Linked DNA regions of Homo sapiens: regions 1 and 2 are each linked to region 3. Evidence: promoter capture Hi-C in 16 types of primary human blood cells and fetal thymus (Javierre and others, 2016). All regions are on one chromosome and are shown on one strand. Each heading gives the region's core, a stretch centred on a gene start or on the middle of the fragment in contact. The rest is flanking DNA. Distances are from core to core; before and after follow the strand shown.

The links. The method cuts DNA at HindIII sites, captures the fragments that hold promoters and counts their contacts. A CHiCAGO score of 5 or more calls a contact.
Region 1: a contact is called between a fragment that was not itself captured here and the fragment with the promoter of ETV1 in region 3, in 1 of 17 cell types (total CD8 T cells). The highest score is 5.2, in total CD8 T cells.
Region 2: a contact is called between a fragment that was not itself captured here and the fragment with the promoter of ETV1 in region 3, in 1 of 17 cell types (endothelial precursors). The highest score is 5.1, in endothelial precursors.

The regions. Positions count from the first base shown.
Region 1 is chr7:13,691,832-13,696,164 of GRCh38, reverse strand. The region is part of intron 2 of LOC107986770 (a long non-coding RNA gene); the gene reads right to left. Among named protein-coding and RNA genes, the nearest start is that of ETV1, 300 kb to the left of the region's middle. The HindIII fragment of the contact is 683 bases long and covers 1,902-2,584 here.
Region 2 is chr7:13,523,776-13,528,241 of GRCh38, reverse strand. The region is part of intron 2 of LOC107986770 (a long non-coding RNA gene); the gene reads right to left. Among named protein-coding and RNA genes, the nearest start is that of ETV1, 460 kb to the left of the region's middle. The HindIII fragment of the contact is 2,109 bases long and covers 218-2,326 here.
Region 3 is chr7:13,988,235-13,992,762 of GRCh38, reverse strand. It overlaps ETV1 (ETS variant transcription factor 1), which reads left to right and starts at 3,097. Exons shown (of 14, transcript NM_004956.5): 1 at 3,097-3,200; 2 at 3,299-3,495; 3 at 3,624-3,755. The coding sequence starts at 3,711. RefSeq lists an enhancer at 1,076-1,577. The HindIII fragment of the contact is 3,649 bases long and covers 757-4,405 here.

The sequences.
Region 1 (4,333 bases), core at 994-3,493, 300 kb after region 3:
GGTGTTAAAAGTCTCAAACAATGTCTTCTTTGTATGATGTGCTGAAAGAGCATTATGTATGGGATGTGTACATGTCTTTTTATATGTCAACAGTGTCCCCAGGAAAGCAACATCCAACCTCAGCTCCACTAAAAACCAGAGTCACACTGTACTGTATATTAGATTTAATAATTCAGGCTCAATAATATAGTGTCTTATGCCAAATATTGTCCACTAATATCCAAAAAGTAACCTAAACCACAAACCAGTCTGAGCTCTCGCTTTTCACAATTACTTCCTGTCACTATCATTAGATATCCACAACATAGGAAAAATCACTTTGACATAGTTACTCTAATATTAAGACAGCCATAATGCACTGGTTTTACACAAGACTCACCCAAGTTATACTATGGAGTAGCTATCACAGGTTTTAGAATGCTGTGGTGCATACTTGCTGCACAAGCCTAAGAGATGGAGAGAGTAAATGTGAATCCCCAAATTGTATATCTTCCATTCACATCAGACCCACGACTTTCCTTATCATTTAACTGGACATGGATATGATAATATGTTTATATTTGCTCCCAGAAAGTATATAAACTGTGATTCTAAAAGTTGGATCACTACCCCAATGGCACCAAACTAAAAACACATTTAAATTGTTATTTTTTCTTAAATTCAACTTAAAAGTATAAATGTACGTGTGGCATGACTGTTGAAAGTAATGTTGCCTCTTCAGGATTTCTACAGTAGTCCCTGATTGTAATATTTATTCATTTGGGACACTTATTTACCAAAATTATTCTTTACAGTTTTATGTTTTCATGTGTCACTGTCTTGATTAGATAATAAGCATGAAGCTGGTTAACAAGCTTAACCATAGCCTTACTTGATTGAAATCCTTCTTTGAGCTTGTCACACAGGTTATGCACATTGTAGGTCTCAATAAGAGGTTAATTTCTCCAATTTTTTTAGAATAAAAAAGTTGAAAATGACTCATCAGCTTTCCCTTCTTTCTTGCTAAAAAATCACAAAAATAAATGTGCAAACAGTATTCCACAGGTGAAAAAAATTCGAGTAACAAGTAAGACAAACAGAATTGCATTATCAGAAAAGAACAGAGAAGACTGAAAAAGTACAGTTTAATGCATATGAGTAAAGTGTATGTTTCAAAACATTTGTATTATTGGTTACATTTTTTACCTCTTACTTTTTATTTTTGACCTTTCATAGGTGTAGCCAAAATGAACTTTGATGAATAGGAAAAAAAGTCAGAACAAGATTTTTATTTATTTTTGTAGTCTTTATAGATTTTAATATCTTACAATGCGCAGGATTTCATATAGATACTCTAACCTATATTTTTATTCTTTGCAATTCCTCCTTGGTTAATAGCCATAAGGATCATTTATGTACTTATGCAGTGTTTTTACTGTTTCTATATACCACCCAACCTTGCTGGTTTTCCCCTATCCCTATGAATTTTCCCCTATCCATTTGGATTTTCCCCATTACCTCAAAATTTTCAATGCTTTATCTTGCAGAATCGTTCGGTTTTGTCATAATTTCTAAATAACTGAATCCAGGTGGAATAGAGATCTTTAGGTAACATAAATCATCCTCTGTAGAAGCAGTTTCTATTGGTTTATTAGTTTTCTTTTGTTGTCTCACTTTCACCTGAGTTAAATATGTATCTTGTAAACATATTTGTTGTTAGCACAGTGGTTTCCCATGACAAATCCCTATAGTATCAATACATTCCTTTCCATGTCCACTGCACATAATTTAGCATTTCCAAAATGGATATAAAATGAAATCATTTTAGAATACATTTCAGTCACCCAGACAAAATTGATTTAAACTAATATCTCTGACTATATAAAATACATTTACTATTATTCCAACATGCATTAAAAGCTTAGAACTATGTGATAAGGAAGATGAAGAGAAAGAGAATGAGGAACAGGTTGGGAGGAGGAGATGAGGGCATGGGGAGGACAAGAGGAAGAAGAAAAAGAAGTCAAAAGAAAAAGACAGTTATATGTGTGTGTCTTCGGTTCATAACAAGGTTAGTTTCAAAATGGTATTTAAATCCATTGTTTAAAATGTGGACACCTTTCTCCATAAAAGTAAGAGAAAAGTATGGGCAGAAGGTATCAAACTTATTCAGATTAGGGTAAGGCCTCGTTTGATAGTGAAAGAATCAGATTTGTAGGAGCGGGGGCTGTGACATCAGTTCTTTCATGACCCCTGAGGAGAGGAAGGGATGCAGGGAGGCAGAAGGTAGAAGTTTTGGTTGGGTTGGGGGCACAAACTCTGCTGAGGGGTGGGAGTGGTGAAGGAAAGACAGCACATTTGGGGCATGCAGAGTGGTCTTTAGTAATGAGTCTAATAAGACAATGCATCAGAATAAAACAGATCATTGTTGTGTCAAGTACGGGATTTGTAAATTGGAAATTAGTTAGTTTCTGTTCACTACCAGGGAAGTGGTATTTTTGTAACCTAAAAACTAAGGACTTCTGATTCAGACAGACTTGTGTTTTGGTTTAAGCATTGTTGTTTATCAAATATGTATTCATAAGTAAGTCAAACTCTCCAAGCTTCAGTTGCCTGATCAGCAAATTAGAGGAAATATAAAATTTACCAGTTCATTGTTACAGCTTAGTCATGTTCTTACCATCCCTGATATCTGTCTAATATTTATTAGGTATTCTTTCTATTATTATATCTCTAAAACATATTGTTTTTGAAAAATTTGTATATACTTTATGTACTTTGAATAAAATTTAGTTCTCTAGTTCCTCAAAATAGGTAACAGTTTTAACATGAAAAAAAATCACTAAACCTCTTTCTATTCTCTGTATTTATTGGTGACAAATTTTTTAAATTCTTTTTTGCTTGGAGAATAGATTCTATTAAAAATAATTCCATTTGCCTCTCTTAGGGGGTAAGAGGCCATTTATACTTCAGGGTATGATCTTTCAAGACAAAGGTTCATTAATTTTCGTTGCAAGGGGAGAGAAAAAAGGCCCAAATGTAGCCCTTCGAACCCATCAGATCATTTTCTTGATGGCCAATTCTTAACCACTCTCAACCCAGTTTCCCTAACTCTAAAAGGGTATTTTACCATCCTTTTAGGCAGGATATAAAGATTAATTAGTTAAGATTGCAAAGTGCTTTAAGTATGAAATGTTGTATGAGATAATAGGATAAATATTAATAATATCCTGCTAGAAGTACAGAGACAGCCATAGTTAGGTAACTAAGAAAAATAAATTGCAGTGCTTGGTATGAAATTGAAAATCACTAATGGAATGAAAGTTTGTTCATACTGGGAGCAGTGTTGCATCATGTATAATGTAATACCAGGTCATTTTCAATTGTTTTAATTGCCATGAGCAACTGATCTTTAGAGCTGTTCCTGACAAGCTTTAGCATGGCCCTAATGATCGTAAAACGGTGCCAAAGACCAGCATTATCCCCTATTGAACATTAAATGGTATCGACCCTCTTCTCTGGGTCCATCACTCAACAGACTCCTTAAAGTAATTCATGACACAATTAACATTAATTAACTTTACGAAAACCCCTCAAACTCTCTGCTGTTTTAAGACTTCAGACATTGGAGAAAGTAAAGAGCAACTAACAAAAAAGTTGTGAATCCTCTTGTGAGAGCCATCAATTAGGATAAGTAAAAGATTCCTAAATTTTTATAACCCTCATTTATCACTTGCCACTCCTGATGAGTTTATCCTGTGCAAAGATATCTTTAAAGCCATTCAGTTCAAAAAGAACCATTCATCTCTGTACTTCACATCCACTTTAAAACTGAGAGTGCAAGCTTCCAAATTCATGTCAGAGTAAACCAAGCAACACAAGTGATTACTGGGCTCTACAGAAATGCTACCCAAGTATGTCTCATGTATGCAAGGAAAGACTTTAGCCTTGCCCTTTTCATCTCTATTTCTACAGAACTCTCCTACGGGGATTGCGTATTAGTTAGGGTTCTCTAGAGAAACAGAACTAATAGGATAGATGCATATATGAAAGGGAGTTTATTAAGGACAAGTGACTCACAGGATCACAAGGGGAAGTCCCACAATAGGCCCTCTGCAAGCTGAGGAGCAAGGAAGCCAGTTCGATTCCCAAAACCTCAAAAGTAGGGAAACTGACAGGACAGCCTTCAGTCTGTGGCCAAAGGCCTAAGAGCCCCTGGCAAACCACTGGTGTAGTCCAGGAGCCCAAAAGCTGAAATACTTGGAGTCCAATGTTCGATGGCAGGAAGCATCTAACACGGGAGAAAGACAGAGGCTGGAAGACTCAGCCAGTCTAGTCCTTCCATGTTTGCTTG
Region 2 (4,466 bases), core at 23-2,522, 460 kb after region 3:
CTAAATCCGTGGCTTTTGCAGCCATATTATGAACATACAGGATCTTGTATACCGGAAGTCAGACAAAAGAGAAGAAAAATTTACATCATATGCTATGCTGAAGAAATAGTTCATACATACAAAAAACAACTAGCAGTCAGCGGTTGGCAATTGAAATTTAGGAGGTAAACAACACTAACTGTTAATTTTATCATGGCCCTTTATTTCCTATAAAGCTTATGTGGTCCATAGCAACACAGGTTTCACTGATAATAGCAAATAAACATTTAGCACTGTGGATGCAGTCACAAGCATTGAGATAATTTTGTTATAAACACATAATAATATGCACAGATGCATCTTTATTTTATTATATTATCACAAAGCATGTGTACATTTTATGTGAAAAACATCTTTTCATTATAGAGTTAATTCTGCAAAACTGAGTATCTTTTTTTTTCTCATTCAATTGTTTTATTTATTTGACACTAACGTTAGGCACCTATCAATGTGCCAGGCTCTGAGGACAAAAATAAATAAGTAAATAAAAAATAAATTAAACAGAAAAGACGAATACTTGAATTCAACAAGTTTATACTAGGGATGCAGTTAATTAGGCAGAGGGAAATCATACAATTATAATTGTCTCCAAAGGATCTGCTAGTAACTGAGAAAAGTTAACAAGTGGTCTTAAATTTCACGTTCTCCTGGCTAGCAGCTGAGGACAGCAACACGTGTTGGTGAACAACAGCTCTTAGAAGAAATAAGCAAGCAGACAGGCAGGAAAGATCTGCACTTGATGCTTAAGCATCCTTTGCTTCCTAATGTCGGAAAATATGTAAAGGGTGCACCTCTGCCACAGCTATTGGGCATCTCAAATGCGAAAAAAAGACCTAATTTTGACTTTGGGAGAAACTATTCTCACATGCAGACAACGACAGGGAAACGTGGAAGTACTCAGCCTGAAAAATGTATTCTGTGAAATACTCAGCAAGTTTGAAAATGTGTTTAGAATACAAATGTCTGTTATGAGTTATTTGACAGCTATCTTATCACTGATACAGAAAATTAGTTAAAATCCACAGCTTCCAATCTACTAAGATTAAAATTCCAAATAGAAGTTAGAAGATTTGGATTTTAAACTCGAGTTTATTCTCAGACTCCCTTTTAATATTTGGTAAATTTTTTTAACCTTTTTGGTTTCAAGTCTTCTAATTTTCCGAATGCTAGATTATTATTAAGAACTAATGAGGCCTAGATTCCATAGCTAATGTAAGAACGCTTCTGTAAAGACTCGATTACAAACCCAGTTTTGGAAAGATCTGGTCAATAGTAATAAAGAACCAACCTATCTGATAAAAACATTTTAACTATACCCAAATTCAGAACTTGCCCAAAAAGAAGCCTGGAGCCAGGATGAAATCAGGAATTCATAGTGTCCAAATTATAATACTTATGAAAATAACTTATATTTACTCAGAGAAGTGGTTGTTAGACTTTAACGTGCATCAGAATCACATGGAGGCTGGTTTAAACACAGATTGCTGGAGACCATTGTCAGAAATTTTGATTCAGGCGGTGGGGGGGATGGAGACAGACTAGGAACTAACAAGTTCCCAGGGGTAAATGATGTTAATGGTCCAGGATCCACACTTGAGAACCACTGAGTATTACTGGTAGGTTCTCAACTTACTTTGTGCAATTAAAAACAAAAAAAAATAAACTTAGAATACAATTATTATTTGATTTCCTCTCTCTGTATCTATTTTAATACAGGTGCATGCCATATATACATATAGATATACTATATACATATGCATACATATTTGTATTTATAATTTTATATATTGTACTTATTTGTTTCTATTTTAACCACTCAGGGACCAATTCCCCTGAGGTTAAAAAATATACCTTCAGTTAATGTTTGTTGTTAATTAAAATAATTTCTGAATGTAAGGGTCATAAGAGGTACTTGGCCGTCAATGACATGGAACTGCCATGACATGCCATTCAGTGAGTCAAGAAAACACCAATTCTTATTCTTCATACCAAGAGTTTAAATATAACTGACTGCCTGAAAATATCAATCAGGTGGAAGATGAGAAAATTTAAATGCTAGTATTTATGTTTCTGACCTTGGGAATTTCATTTTTTCATAAATCCAGACACCTCTATGCCATTCTAAAAGGCTTGACTTTTAAAGTAACATTGAAATAAACCATTTGTCAAAATGGATTATCTATAATTGATCGTTCTGTTAATGATTTTAGAACCTTCAAATTTTTGTATATAGAGTTTTTATAGAATGAGACACTCATGTATTGGCTTACTGACATATCACAAAGCTTAATACAATTATAAATTTAGAGTAAGTGCCCAAATTTAGTCATTTTTAAAATTTTTCCTGAGCACTGGCTTAAAAAATCTTATACTTTAAATCTCTTTGCATGTTTGTGCATGTATTTCATAAAGTATACATCCATGCATTTACATAATTATACAAATAAATGAAAACAAAAAATGAAAAAACATATTTGAAAATCTTTCTAAGAAGTCCATTTAGATTGTAATATGAAACAATGTGTCAGAAGTATCTCCTACCTTTCTAATTTTCTTATGTTTGTACCTTGTGTTATTTTTCATATCAGTAGCTGTGATTTATACATTTAAAATTTTTATGATATTTCTTTTTTTGTCATTTGTTTATTATATCAGCATATATTGTGGGAATATTTTCTTTGGACTTTTTTTTTTTTTTTTTTTTTGTAATTGACTAGCTTTCATCTCGGTTTGTGAAAGAGAACCAGCTGTTTTCTTGAAAGATAATTTTCTGAAGCTGTTGTGGGCCATAATTACACTGCAATTACACAGCAATATCCATAAAAGCAGATGAGGATTCTATGTGTCCTTTTACCTCATTAGAGGTTGCAGAAATGATAGATGCAGCCTATCCTAGTTTGACTACTGCCCTCTATTGGCAAAATCAATTTTTGGCATAATCCAAAAGATAGAAGCAATAAAAACAGAGATAGACTGTGCTTGTTTGCTTTTGCTTTGTTTCGTTTTCAAACCATAGTAGTATATTGGGTCACCAGTTTAACATTATCAAATATTTCAAAAACTTTTTTTTTACAATTACAATTTAAAACATACTTTTAAAACCTAGCTACTTAAAATTACTTAAACTAGTGTTATGTGAATTGGGGCTTTTTTACAGCACCAAACTACAGAGCACTAATCTTTTCTTCCTCACTGGAAACCTACTTGATCATATCCATCTTTTCAGTACAGAATCAGTTGGATCTTTTCCTTGTTCCCAGTATGAATCCTCCTCTTTGAAGCAACAGTCTCCAAGCAAATTGAGATTTTTTTTTTTTTTTTTTCCTCCTGAGATGGAGTCTCACTCTGTCACCCAGGCTGGAGTGCAGTGGCGCGATCTCAGCTCACTGCAACCTCCGCCTCCCGGGTTCAAGCAATTCTCCTGCCTCAGCCTCCTGAGTAGCTGGGACTACAGGTGCGTTGCCACCACGCCCGGCTAATTTTTGTATTTTTAGTAGAGACGGGGTTTCACCACATTGGCCAGGCTGGTCTCAAACTCCTGACCTTGTGATCCGCCCACCTCAGCCTTCCAAAGTGCTGGGGTTACAGGGGTGAGCCACCGCACCCTGCTGAAAATTGACATTTTTAAGTCTTTTACTATTTCCAAAATCAGCAATTAATCAAACCTTTATTATCACCATGACAAATAAATATTTGGTCATCTGCAGAAGAAAAATTTACTCCAAATAAATTGCTGAGAAAAAGAATTTTCATTTTAGGACAGGCAATAATATTTTCCATATTATGATTGAGAAAGAAGATGTAAGAAAACCAGCTTCACAAAGCAGCTGAAACTATCTTGAGTGTTGCATTTAATGTGTGTTCTATGGTGGGAAAGGTGCACATGTACAAATAAACATCATCTTTCATGGATCTTTGATTCTGACTGGCAGATGAGGAATATAGTATTTTAATAACATTTATTTTGGCAGAAGTAGAAGGAAGTAATCTAGTTTTGTAACCAGTTGGGCAACCAGAAAAAACAAATCTTCTGTGAGTCCTTTTATGACCTTCTAGGAATGAGAACTTTTGAAAGACTTGAACATTTTTAAAAGTAAAAATAAGGTTTTTTCTAAATTTCACTTTCTTGCACTTATACCAGGTAGACTGCTGTCTTCCCATGTGACATTCTTAATGTAAGTATTTGCTGTGCAGCAAACGTACATAAATTTAGTTGCAAAGTTTCTGGACTGATGTCAAATTTAGGAGGTGAGAGAATTAAAATTAGTTCATTTCTTTGCCAACACTAACATAAATCTCGGAGCACATTTCCTCAGATGCACTAAAATGGTGACAGCTTAGTTAACCACTGGGGAAGTTTTGTGTATGAGAGCTCGTATTCATTTAACAATTTCAGCTGAGCATGATCCCACCTCAGTTGCCTCTTC
Region 3 (4,528 bases), core at 1,848-4,347:
TCCTGCCAAAATGAAATTTTCCGTTCAAAAGGGCTGGCATTTACTAAACTGATGTTTTAAAGACATTCTCAAAAAGTAGTGGAAACTTTGTCCAGCTTTTTATGTTCCTGTCTTGTAGACAGAACAGCTGCCTTTGCAGATATTTTCCAAGATCTTACATTTTCTGAAAAACAAATTTTCAGCCCTTCCACTGTCTTCAGCAAGTGGGTCTATTGGTTTTTCCCAGTGCCAAGCAGAGAAGATAAACAACTGCCAAACTAGAAGCTAGTGTCTGAGTATCAAGGCATAGAAAGGACAGAAGAGATAGTGTTTCAGTAAGTATCAATGCAGAGAAAGGACAGAAGAGAAAGTGGGAGAAAGAAAAGAGGGTGGTTCAATCGTTCACAGTCAAGAGGGACACATTTATCTCAAAATTTTAGGCTGTTTCAACAAAACCGAGCTGTAGCGAGACTAGCTGCTTATTCACACGAGAACATCATTTTCAGTTACTATGAAGATCAAAGAGTTAAAAGATATGAGTTCGTTTAAAGAACTCAAAAGGGAAAATATGAAGCCACCGCAATACGTAGTAAAATCTGAGGCTTAACAGCGCAGCGCCTGAGAGTGCCAGTCCACTAAAGGGAGGGAGAAGGGGCGCAGAGCTTATGGGGGCCTGGGAAGGAGTGATAAGTCTTTGGAAATGGAAACTAAAGCTATCAGCCAGCGAAAACCATCAATATTCCTAAAAATATATAATACTAATAATACATAAAAGCTTTAAAAAACTAACAAGACACTGTGGGATACAAAAAAAGGTAGAAATGAAAATTACAGAATGTTAAGTGAAAAAACTGAAATCCATCTACAGTCGAACAGTTTGCACCTTTAAAAGCAATGACTTGAAGCAGCAAGCAAAAGTTCCCAGTCCTTAAGACTTTCTCCCCACTCTCAATTCTTTCTTTCCTCTAGTGCAAAAGCTGTCTAAGCAGTGCACGCCGGAATTATCCCCACGTGAGCCTTCCTTTAATTTCGGTCTTAATTTTTTTCTCTCTTGTTATTACTCCCAGACCCCAACCTCTTTTTCCTCATCTAGTATCTGTTTCAGGGACAGGACAAAGAGGAGGCAGCGAGCTGAAAAAAGTTTTGTGGTTTGGGATACTTGGGCCTTTGTTGTGTCATTTCCTCTACCCCTCCACGCCCCCAACCACGTGACCAAGAAGGGCCGGAATTTTGTGAATGGAGACGAAAGGTGGCTGTTGGGGCGGGCGGGACTCCGCCCCCTTCCCTAAAGCGGCCAATCTCCTAGCGGAGCGCTGAGGGGTCAGCAATAAACAACAATGGGCTGGGGATTTACGGCTCGTTATTGGCTGCGGGAAGAACCTCGCCGGGACCTAACCCGAAGCTCCGCCCCCTCGCGGTTACCCTGGATACCCGTCAGGCTCGGGCTGCAGAGAAGGTCTTTGGAAACTGTTGCTCAGATTACAGGCGCTGGGTTATTCCAGGAGTGCAGGGTGGTGGAGGACCCTTGTTATTGACCCCCTGCTTGGTTGCACCCTCAGATAGTACCCATGAGCTTCACTGTTCAGCCTCGGGGCCCAGGCGCTTCCTGGAATCTCTCCTTGGCCGGGGTTAAAATGCAGTTCCCGCTCAAAATGCTTATAGGTGCGCGCGTTGTGAACTCCGATTTAGTAGTTTCCGGGAATGCGCGGGGTCTGTCTTTGCTGTCCATAGTTATTGGTTGTTTTCCCAGTAATAAGTGTTGATTGTTTGTTTGTTTGCTTCTTTTTTAAGTAGATCTTTCTCCTGCCCAGGTCCGGGGTTGAGTGCTGTGCGCTCTTACACTCCATTTTAATGTGTCTCCATAACGTTCTATTTAAGGAAGGAAACTTTCAAATAGAAATTGAGAACTGCAGCACGTTTCCTAACGGGCGGAACAGCTGCCGGAAACGTCTTTTGGTCACTAGTTCTGGTCACAAATGAATTTCAACAGCATTGAGTCCCTGGTCCTATCCCCGCGGCCTCCCGTCCGCTGTTGGACACTGGCTCCTTAAAGTGACGCTTTACTGTTCTGAGTCCCATAGGAGGATCAGGGCAAGTGGCTTCAGAGATGCAGCCCTCACTGCTTAACGTCCTAGTTATTGTCCTTGAAACCCGAGCCATCTCACCGCTCGCCCCCAACCCTGGGCTCTGGCTGTTTAAAAGCTGGAGAGGAAGTGAAAGCGTCAAGTACAGTAAGTGACACCCTCCGCCTCCGTGTATACATAACAAAAGCTCAGGAAACGTGCGGGTTCTAGGATATACGAGCAACCCCAAGCACTCCCTCCTCCTCCCCACAGCCACAGTGGACTGGAAGTACCTTTTCCCAGTGCACACGTAGGGACCATTTTGACTTATACTTTTTCACCTAGCTTGCTCTGTTGTCCTCCCATCACAACCTCTGCTAATCAGCAATTCTGCATCTCCTAGGTGCCTTCCTTATAGATTCTTTATGTTTCTGTCCCACGAACGATAGGATCTAATTTTAGTTGAGGATGACTGTTTAAAAAATGTTTCGATAAACCATAATGGTGATGGTGGGTTTTGAAAAACGGGAAAATAAATTGGGCCAAAAGCTGAGTGGGAATGAGGATAGAGAGCGAGGTGAGCTCCTAGTCAGGGCAAGAGTAGAGAGGTTGGAGATCCTGAGGGGAGGGCAGCTGAATAAGGCGGTACGGGCTTTGTGGATCGCGGCTCTAAGGGTATACCAGAACCGCACAACAGTACTTTAAGGAAACCAGCCCAATAGTGGACCTAACACCCCAATAATGGGAACTGGCGACTCGAAACACACGGTTTCAGTATCCCCAGGCGCCTTAACAATAAGCAGCGGGTTACAGAGGAAATCGAGTCTCTCCGTGGCGCTTCCAGGCTGAGGACCCAGCGCCTACCGGCCGAGCACCCCCTAGGGCAGAGGGGCGAGGGAGACCCGCGGGAAGGGGCAGCAAGCCGCCTGATTGACAGCCCGAAATCTGATCTTGTGAAAGAGACGCGGAGCCAATGGGAGGCAGCGATCCATCAGTTTGGATTGGAGGCCCCTGGAGGAGAAGTAGAGGAAAAACCACCGAATTGAGCTCTGTCAGAGGCGCTTTCGGCTTCCAAGGGGGAAGTGCTGGGCTATAATTAATGTTTTTATTAAATTTGGAGGGAAGTTTTTGCAGCCTTTCGCCTAGCGTGGCCTTCAGGTGGGTCTTTCCAACAACTTTTTATGTCTCTCCAGATAATTGCATGGTTGTGGGTCGCAAAAACTATCCTGATGAAAGAGGTGTCTCCGTCTCTTTAGTCCCGTTAGGTGCAAAGCAAGTCTCGTTGATCGCCATTGCTAGTTTTGCACACGTTTGCGAATCAGAGCTGCCCGGGGTACACCGACCGCGCAGGGAAACATCGAGAGTGTAAATAAATACATCGCCTCTTGTTCGGATTTTTGCTACTACCGAAAATATGTAAATTGTGAACTCTGTTGGCTCTCTTTGGATCCAGGTGAAGGAGGCGGTGTAGGGAGGGTTATTTTTGTGAATGGGACTGTCGGAGGGTAATTAGCTATGCAAATTCAAGAGCTTCATTCATGATTTTTTTTTAAGCCTAAAAGCCATCTTGTTCCCCTCTAGGTTGATAGAAGTCCAGATCCTGAGGAAATCTCCAGCTAAATGCTCAAAATATAAAATACTGAGCTGAGATTTGCGAAGAGCAGCAGCATGGATGGATTTTATGACCAGCAAGTGCCTTACATGGTCACCAATGTGAGTGATCAGTTTGAAAGTTGCTGTTTATAAACTTGACTCCGTCGGGGGTGGGGAGAGGGAGAAAATGAGAAGGGAGGGGGCACGGGGGTTGGGATTGCAGATACTTATCTGCTTTGTTGCCACTGTAGGGCGACTCTGCTTCTAGAAGCCCAGTCTTCAAAATGAGCTTACCTTTCAGTGATTTGGATAAGGCATAGTTTTGTTTTTAAGACCCCTTTTTCTGATTAAAGTGCCCAACATGAGTGGAAGAGGAGATGGAGGGCAGCAGCAGCTGCTGCACTCAAAGTTTTTGGCTGGGTTTGTCTGCCACATTGAAAAGAATGAAGTTGAGACAAATGCTGACACTTTTTGTTTATATGGGGTGTTTTTGTTTCTTTTTTTTTTCTCATTTTCTCTTTTTTTTTTTTTTCATTTCTCTACTCTTTTTGCTTTTTTTTTTTGTGGGGGTGGGGTGGGGAGGAGGGGCTGTCCAAGAGAGAATAAAACCCACTGTTTTAATCTAGCATTGAACCAGCCTAAAAACAACTTTAAGTGTAAATGCTTCAGGTTGTTTTGATGCTGAGATACCATGAATATATGATTGATAAATAGTAATGTGCTAAGATCGGCACTGGGAAGCAACTCTCCCTGCCTGCTTAACATAAGCTTTCACTGTCAAATAAGTGAGAAAATGAATATTAGAGTTGATACTATGGACTTCTATTTTTCTATTCAGAGAAGATCCATTAGACTTATGTATGCATGTCTGTGTGTGTGTGTGTGCGCGCGCG